Regions from separate parts of the Homo sapiens genome. Here region 1 is linked to region 2. The links are contacts of gene promoters, found by promoter capture Hi-C in blood cells and fetal thymus (Javierre and others, 2016). All regions are on one chromosome and are shown on one strand. The core of a region is centred on a gene start or on the middle of the fragment in contact, and the rest is flanking DNA. Distances in the headings are between cores, read along the strand shown.

Region 1 (3,295 bases), core at 358-2,857, 1.0 Mb after region 2:
AGGGAGAGTTCAGGCTGCTCCTTGCAGTTTTCCGATCAAGACAAGAGAGCTGGCGTGATGTTTCAGAGACAGGGGCTTGCTCTGTCACCAAGGTTGGACTGCAATGGTGCGATCATAGGTCACTGCAGCCTCAAACTCCTGAGCTCAAGCAATTCTCTTGCCTCAGCCTCCCAAATAGCTGGGACTATAGGCACTCACCACCATGTCCGGCTATTTTTAATTTTTTTTTTTTGTAGAGATAGGGTCTTGCTGTGTTGCCCAGGCTGGATTTGAACTCCTGGCCTCAAGTGATCCTCCTGCCTTGGCCTCCCAAAGTGTTGAGATTACAGGCATGAGCCATTCCACCCGGCCAGCTGGCATGCTTCTAAGCCTGCCTTCACCACTAATTGGTTAAGGGCTGGCCTCCAAGGGGAGTGCAAATTCCCAGGCACTCCAGTCTCAGCACACACAGGCAAAGTGAGAGCAGCCCTCTGCCAACATGCAGGTGCTGGCTAAGAGAAAGCACACAAGGAGCTGTGTGCAGAGCGTGGTCTGAGTGCGTGTGGGCAGAGGCCCCAAGAGCCCTGCTATGTGCTCTTATTCCAAGTGGATCCATTAGTTTGTTCTGCACACATTCATCCATCTTCAACTCTGTGCCAGGCTCTGGGCATGCAGGCGACAAAGACACAGCCCTAACCCTCATGAAATTTTTACAGCCAAGTAGGGGAGACAGACATTAAGTTTTAAAAATCCTCCCAAAATGAGGAACTGTGATTGTGAGTAGCGCTGTGGATGAGAAGAACACCTGGGAGGAGACCTCGTCTAGCAGGTGGGCGGGGATGAAGCTTCTCCAAACAAGTGACGCTGAGCCAAGAGCTGAAGGATGAGTAAGAGTGAACCAGGCATAAAAGGGAAGAAGGAGCATTACAAGCCTGGGGTGCATGTGCAAGGGTCCTGGGGCAGGAATCCACAGGAGCAAGTGAAAGGCTGGTGTGACTGGGGTCCGAAGACCCAGGGGAGAGCAGTAAGTGATGAGCCTGTGGGTTGCTGAGGAGTGATTATTCCCCACTTACCACCTGGTTCCTTTTCGAGCCTGTTCAATGTCGTTCAGACCCAGATGTGTGAGCCATTCTCTGGTACGTTCCCTGGAAGCAGAGGGGAAATGGGGACATAGCGAGGATGTTAGGGTGGAAGAGACTATTTTCAATGGTTCATCTTTTCCCCACTGAAGCTTATAGCTGAAATTAATACATAAATTTACAGCCACAAGTCAGTTGTGATAAATAATCCCAGAAGTGTTCCGATTATTTACATTTTTATGGAATCTTGCCTGAGCAAACCCAGAGAGCACACCAGGCACTTGAAGAATTATGTCTTGTTCAAAACCAATTTAATAGCAATGGAAAATAAAGCCATCTGTGGGAACTTGTAGAGCAGAGTAGTAATTCTCTGCCAGATGAGCAATATACAAAAAGCACCAAATCAACCCGAGCACACCAAGCGTTTGCACAGTTCAAGGGAAAGTAACAACTGCAACTTCAATGAACCGTCGGAAGACATCAGGCCTCAGAGTGTCTTTTGCTTGTGTTTTCAGCAGATGTCAGACAGATGAGGATTCTGCTCACGTAGCAATGTGAGAAGAGTCCCTCATGGTCTCCCTACATACAGTGGGGCTGACTGGTGAGAGGCTGTGCAAAAGGGAAGAAAGATCACATGGCGGAGGGGTTAAGAGCATGCGTTTGGGGCCAAAGAGTTGGGAGTTTGCATCTGGGCTCCCCCACTTACTAGCTGGGTGACATAGGGCAAGTCATTGTTTCTTATTTTCCTAATGTGTAAAAATGGGTAATATATGTGAGTGTTTTTCTCTCCCAGTCCAGCATCCTTTCCCCCTGTGTTAGTCTGCTTTGCATTGCTGTAAAGAAATGCCTAAGTCTGGGGTCTGGGTAATTTATAAGGAAAAGGGGTTTATTTTGGCTCACAGTTTTGCAGGCTGTACAGGAAGCATGGTGCTGTCTTGGAGCTCAGGAAGCTTCCAATCATGGCGAAAGGCGAAGGGGGAGCCCATGTGTCACATGGCAAGAGAGGGAGCAAGAGAGAGAGGGGGAGGTGCCAGACTCTTTTAAACAACCAGATCTCATGTGAACTAAGAGCAAGAACTCACTTATTACTGCAAGGCGGGCACCAAGCCATTCATCAGGGATCCACCCCCATGACCCAAACACATCGCACCAGGTCCCACTCCAACACTGGGGATCACATTTCAACATGAGACTTGGAGGGGACAAATATCCAAACCATATAATCCCCAATCTAACAGCATCATGGTTTCCTCTTTTCTCTTGCTTATTTTTTCATGGTTTATTATTTATTTTTTAACAGCTTTATTGAGGTATAATTTACATACATTAAAATTCACCCGTTTAAAATGTACAGTTCGATGAGTTTTAGCAAATTCATATAATGCCACAATTATCTCTACAATCCAGTTTTAGAAAACTTCCATCTCTCCCAAAAGTTTTCTCATTTCCATTTATAGTCAATCCCAACTCCAACCTCCAGCTCCAGGCAACCACCAATGTGGTTACCATCTCTACTGTTTCCCTTTTTCTAGAAATTTCATGTAAATGGAATCATACAATATATAGTCTTATATGTCTGTCTTCTTTCACTTAACATAATGTTTTTGAGATTAATCTATGTTGTTCATTTATTTATTTATTTTTTGAGACGGAGTCTCACTCTGTCGCCAGGCTGGAGTGCAGTGGCACGATCTCGGCTCACTGCAGCCTCTGCCTCCCGGGTTCAAGCAATTCTCCTGCCTCAGCCTCCCGAGTAGCTGGGACTACAGGCGCGTGCCACCACACCCAGCTAATTTTTGTATTTTTAGTAGACATGAGATTTCACCATGTTGGCCAGTATGGTCTTGATTTCCTGAGCTCATGATCCGTCCGCCTCGGCCTCCCAAAGTGCTGGGATTACAGGCATGAGCCACCATGCCCGGCTGATCTATGTTGTTTTAAGTATGTATAGTTTATTCGTTTTTATTGCTTTATGTATACACCACATTTTGTTTACCCATTCACTAATTGATGGATTTAGATGAATTTGAATTTGGATTGTCCACTTTTTTTGGCTGTTATGAATAATGCTGCTTTGAGCAATTGGATATATGTCTTTGCCCTGATATATCCTGCATTTGAATCTTGATTAAATACTTATGAGTGGAATTGCTGGATATTTGGTGCATAACTTAAAAAACTGCCCAATTGTTTTCAAAAGTGGCTGCACAATTTTACATTCCTACCATCAATATATG
Region 2 (3,171 bases), core at 175-2,674:
CTGCACTCCAGCCTGGGTGACAGAGCGAGACTCCGTCTCAAACAAACAAAAAAGCCATATTGAAAGTAGGAAGAGAACTAATTCTTGACATTTAAACAAAGCTGTCTCTCTATCTAGTAAGTAAGAAGTAAGTAAATGTCTTGCTCTGTTGCCCAGGCTGGAGTGCAGTGGCACAATCACAGCTCCCTATAGCCTGAAAGTCCTGGGCTCAAGTGATCCTCCTGCCTCAGCCTCCCAGGTGGGTGGGACTGCAGGTGCAGTGCAGGTGCCATCACGCCCAGCTATTTTTTTTTCTTGTGTAGAAATGGGGGTCTCATTATGTTGTTCATGCTGGTCTTGAACTCCTGAGCTCAAGTGATCCTCTCACCTTGGCCCCCAAAGTGCTGGGATTACAGGCATGAACCACCACGCCCAGCCCAAAGCTTTATTATATTAGATTTCAAATTTCTAACATATCAAAGTAGCGAAGTAGTACAGTCAACCCCCTGCCATCACATGGCTTCGACCCAATCTTGTTTCTTTTCTCCTCCCACCTACTCCCTCACTCCCATATTATTTTAGAGCAAATCCCAGCCATTTTATCTGCATCTTTCAGAATATATCTCTAAAAGACAGGAATTCTTCTTTAAAATAATGCTAATTAAAATAGTCTATGAAAGTAATATATACTTATTAGCAAAAAACAGGTTATTAAAAGTAGAAGCAAAAAGTCACCCATAGTCCTTTTGCCTGAAATAACTCCCATTAACATTTTGATATATTTCTTCACAGATGAGAAAAAATTAAGAACTTTCCCCCCTTCCCTGCCCTATAATCCAAATTGTGTGGGCAAATCTGAGATTACTAGATGTATTGGAAATCCTTTCTCTTTCATAGATAAAAAAACAGAAGTAGACAGAATTTTAAAAATAGATATACTATGGGATGGCTATTGGAGTCATGGCAGTTTTTTTTTTCTTAAATGAAAAGTACTTTTATAGAAATTGTTCTTTGAAAATATTCAGCAAATAATCATTTATTGCTTTCTATGTGCAGATCAAGTTTGTATGATAATTAAATTATTGATAACTTATACCTACGATTTTAAGAATATTTTCAACCCTTTGGTCAGATTGTCTCCAATTAGCATAATAGCAAAGAGACTTTTCAAGGTTAATATGAAACTTTTTCTCAGCTATTTTTTTATTGTCTATTTCTCAGGGGAAAAAGGAAACTTATCCTCTTAGGCAGTTTTCATAATGTTATACATTTAAAAATTAATCTGAAGGAGCTTAAAATATAAATGCATTAGGTGAAAAATAGCAGTTGATTTAAATAAAATGAAGGAGGAGAAGAAAAAGAACCTTACCGACACAAAATAGAATGAGATTGGTTTGCAGATGGCGAGCGATGTTGCTTCTGCTCGCAGTCCCCATTTCTGTGTATGCCGGGGCGGGTTGGGGTGTGTATTTGAAAGGAAAGTTGGCTTTCTTTTTTCAGAAGGGAAGAAGAGCTGAAGAGAGGAACCTCTTATGAAGGAACCATAATCAGGAACTTTTTGAAATTGTGCAAGGATGGCTTCACCATTTAACATTGAGATTTTGGCCTGGAGCACATTTAGAAATGTGCATATCTTTTTTTTTTCCATGGATTTTACAGTTGTCATAGGTGTTAGATGTTTCTGGGTGAGATTTTGATTTACACCTAGCACATATTTCCAGGAAGGAGTATTGTTTGACAAATAATTCGTACTTGGATTTTTCAGAACAGTTCAGTCACTGTCTAGGGTACCTGCTCTGGGTGCCACTCTGGGCCAGTAACTGCTGGGAACAAAGAACAGCAGAAGGAGAAGTGGCTTTGTGTAGAGATGAGAAAAGTTAGTAAACAACACATTCTAATGCAGCGAATAAATAAATTGTCTGTTATTAACTTTTTGTACTCCAGTTTTGAATCCAAAGACACCTGCCTTCCCCCCTTTTTTGACAGGGTCTCTATCACCCAGGCTGGAATGCAGTGGCAAGATTGCAGGTCATTGCAGCCTCAGCTTCCTGAGTAGCTGGGACTACAGGCATGCACCACCACCCCTGGCTAATTTTTTTTTTTTTTTGTAGATTCTGTGTTGTCTAGGCTAGTCCTGCCCTCAAGCGATCCCCCTGCCTTGGCCTCCCAAAGTGTTAGGATTACAGGTGTGAGCCACCATGCCTGGCCCAAAGACCCCCTTTTAATGTGTTGAGAAACAAATATGTGGGCCCTCTGTCCTCTGTGTCCTCTCCCCCAGCACTTAGTGGTGATTCAGTAAGGGTCTTCTTTGTAAAGCAGCAGAAACAGACTCAGGCTGACTTAAAAGGAAATTTATGCAAACATTTGAAGGTAGATCCTAGAGTCACTGGGAGGGCTAGTGAATCTTGTGTGGGGTCCACAGCCAGGAAGAATGCCTCAAATCACACCATAAACAGGTCTGAAGAGGATGCTACTGCCACTGCCAAACACTAGGTGCCATCAGCCCTGTTGTCAGCATCGCTCAACCACTGCCCCAGCCCCTTGGTCTCACTGCCATTGCTCCACCCCCAGAGAAGGAGAAGCTCACATCCCCACTACTCTGGGTCACTGGCTCTCCATTCCAGGGCATGGGCAAGTGTGCCTGGCTTAGGCTGCGTGCCAGTGCCTCAGCTGCACGGCAGGCCAGGAAAGCGGCTCCCAGGCCTTGTGTCTCTCCCAGACTCTGGGCAGGCAATTCCCCAGACATGGGAAGAGCGTCATCTGCACCACTGAAAATTATGAAAAATCTCCCCACCATGATATGATGTCTGTGCCCTTGGCATCTGCTCATGATATATTTTCTCATTAACAGAAAGTTATTCTCAGTCTGTTTTGTTTTTTTTTTTTTTTTTTTTTTTGAGACAGAGTCTCGCTCTGTCGCCCAGGCTGGAGTGCAGTGGCACGATCTTGGCTCGCTGCAAGCTCCGCCTCCCGGGTTCACACCATTCTCCTGCCTCAGCCTCCCAAGTAGCTGGGACTACAGGTGCATGTTGCCATGCCCAGCTAATTTTTTTGTATTTTTTTTAGTAGAGACGGGGTTTCACTGTGTTAGTCAGGATGGTCTTGATCTCCTGACCTCGTGATCCGCCCACCTCGGCCTCCCAAAGTGCTGGGATTACAGGCATGTGCCACCACGCCCGGCCTCAATCTGGT

What was found. The method cuts DNA at HindIII sites, captures the fragments that hold promoters and counts their contacts. A CHiCAGO score of 5 or more calls a contact.
Region 1: a fragment that was not itself captured here is called in contact with the fragment with the promoter of IGSF6 in region 2 in 1 of 17 cell types (erythroblasts); the score reaches 5.5 in erythroblasts.

The regions. Positions count from the first base shown.
Region 1 is chr16:22,663,929-22,667,223 of GRCh38, forward strand. No RefSeq gene overlaps it. Among named protein-coding and RNA genes, the nearest start is that of LINC02890, 52 kb to the left of the region's middle. RefSeq lists an enhancer at 750-909. The HindIII fragment of the contact is 798 bases long and covers 1,209-2,006 here.
Region 2 is chr16:21,651,184-21,654,354 of GRCh38, forward strand. It overlaps IGSF6 (immunoglobulin superfamily member 6), which reads right to left and starts at 1,425. Exons shown (of 6, transcript NM_005849.4): 1 at 1,349-1,425. The coding sequence starts at 1,415. The region is part of intron 4 of METTL9 (methyltransferase 9, His-X-His N1(pi)-histidine); the gene reads left to right. The HindIII fragment of the contact is 3,735 bases long and covers 421-3,171 here.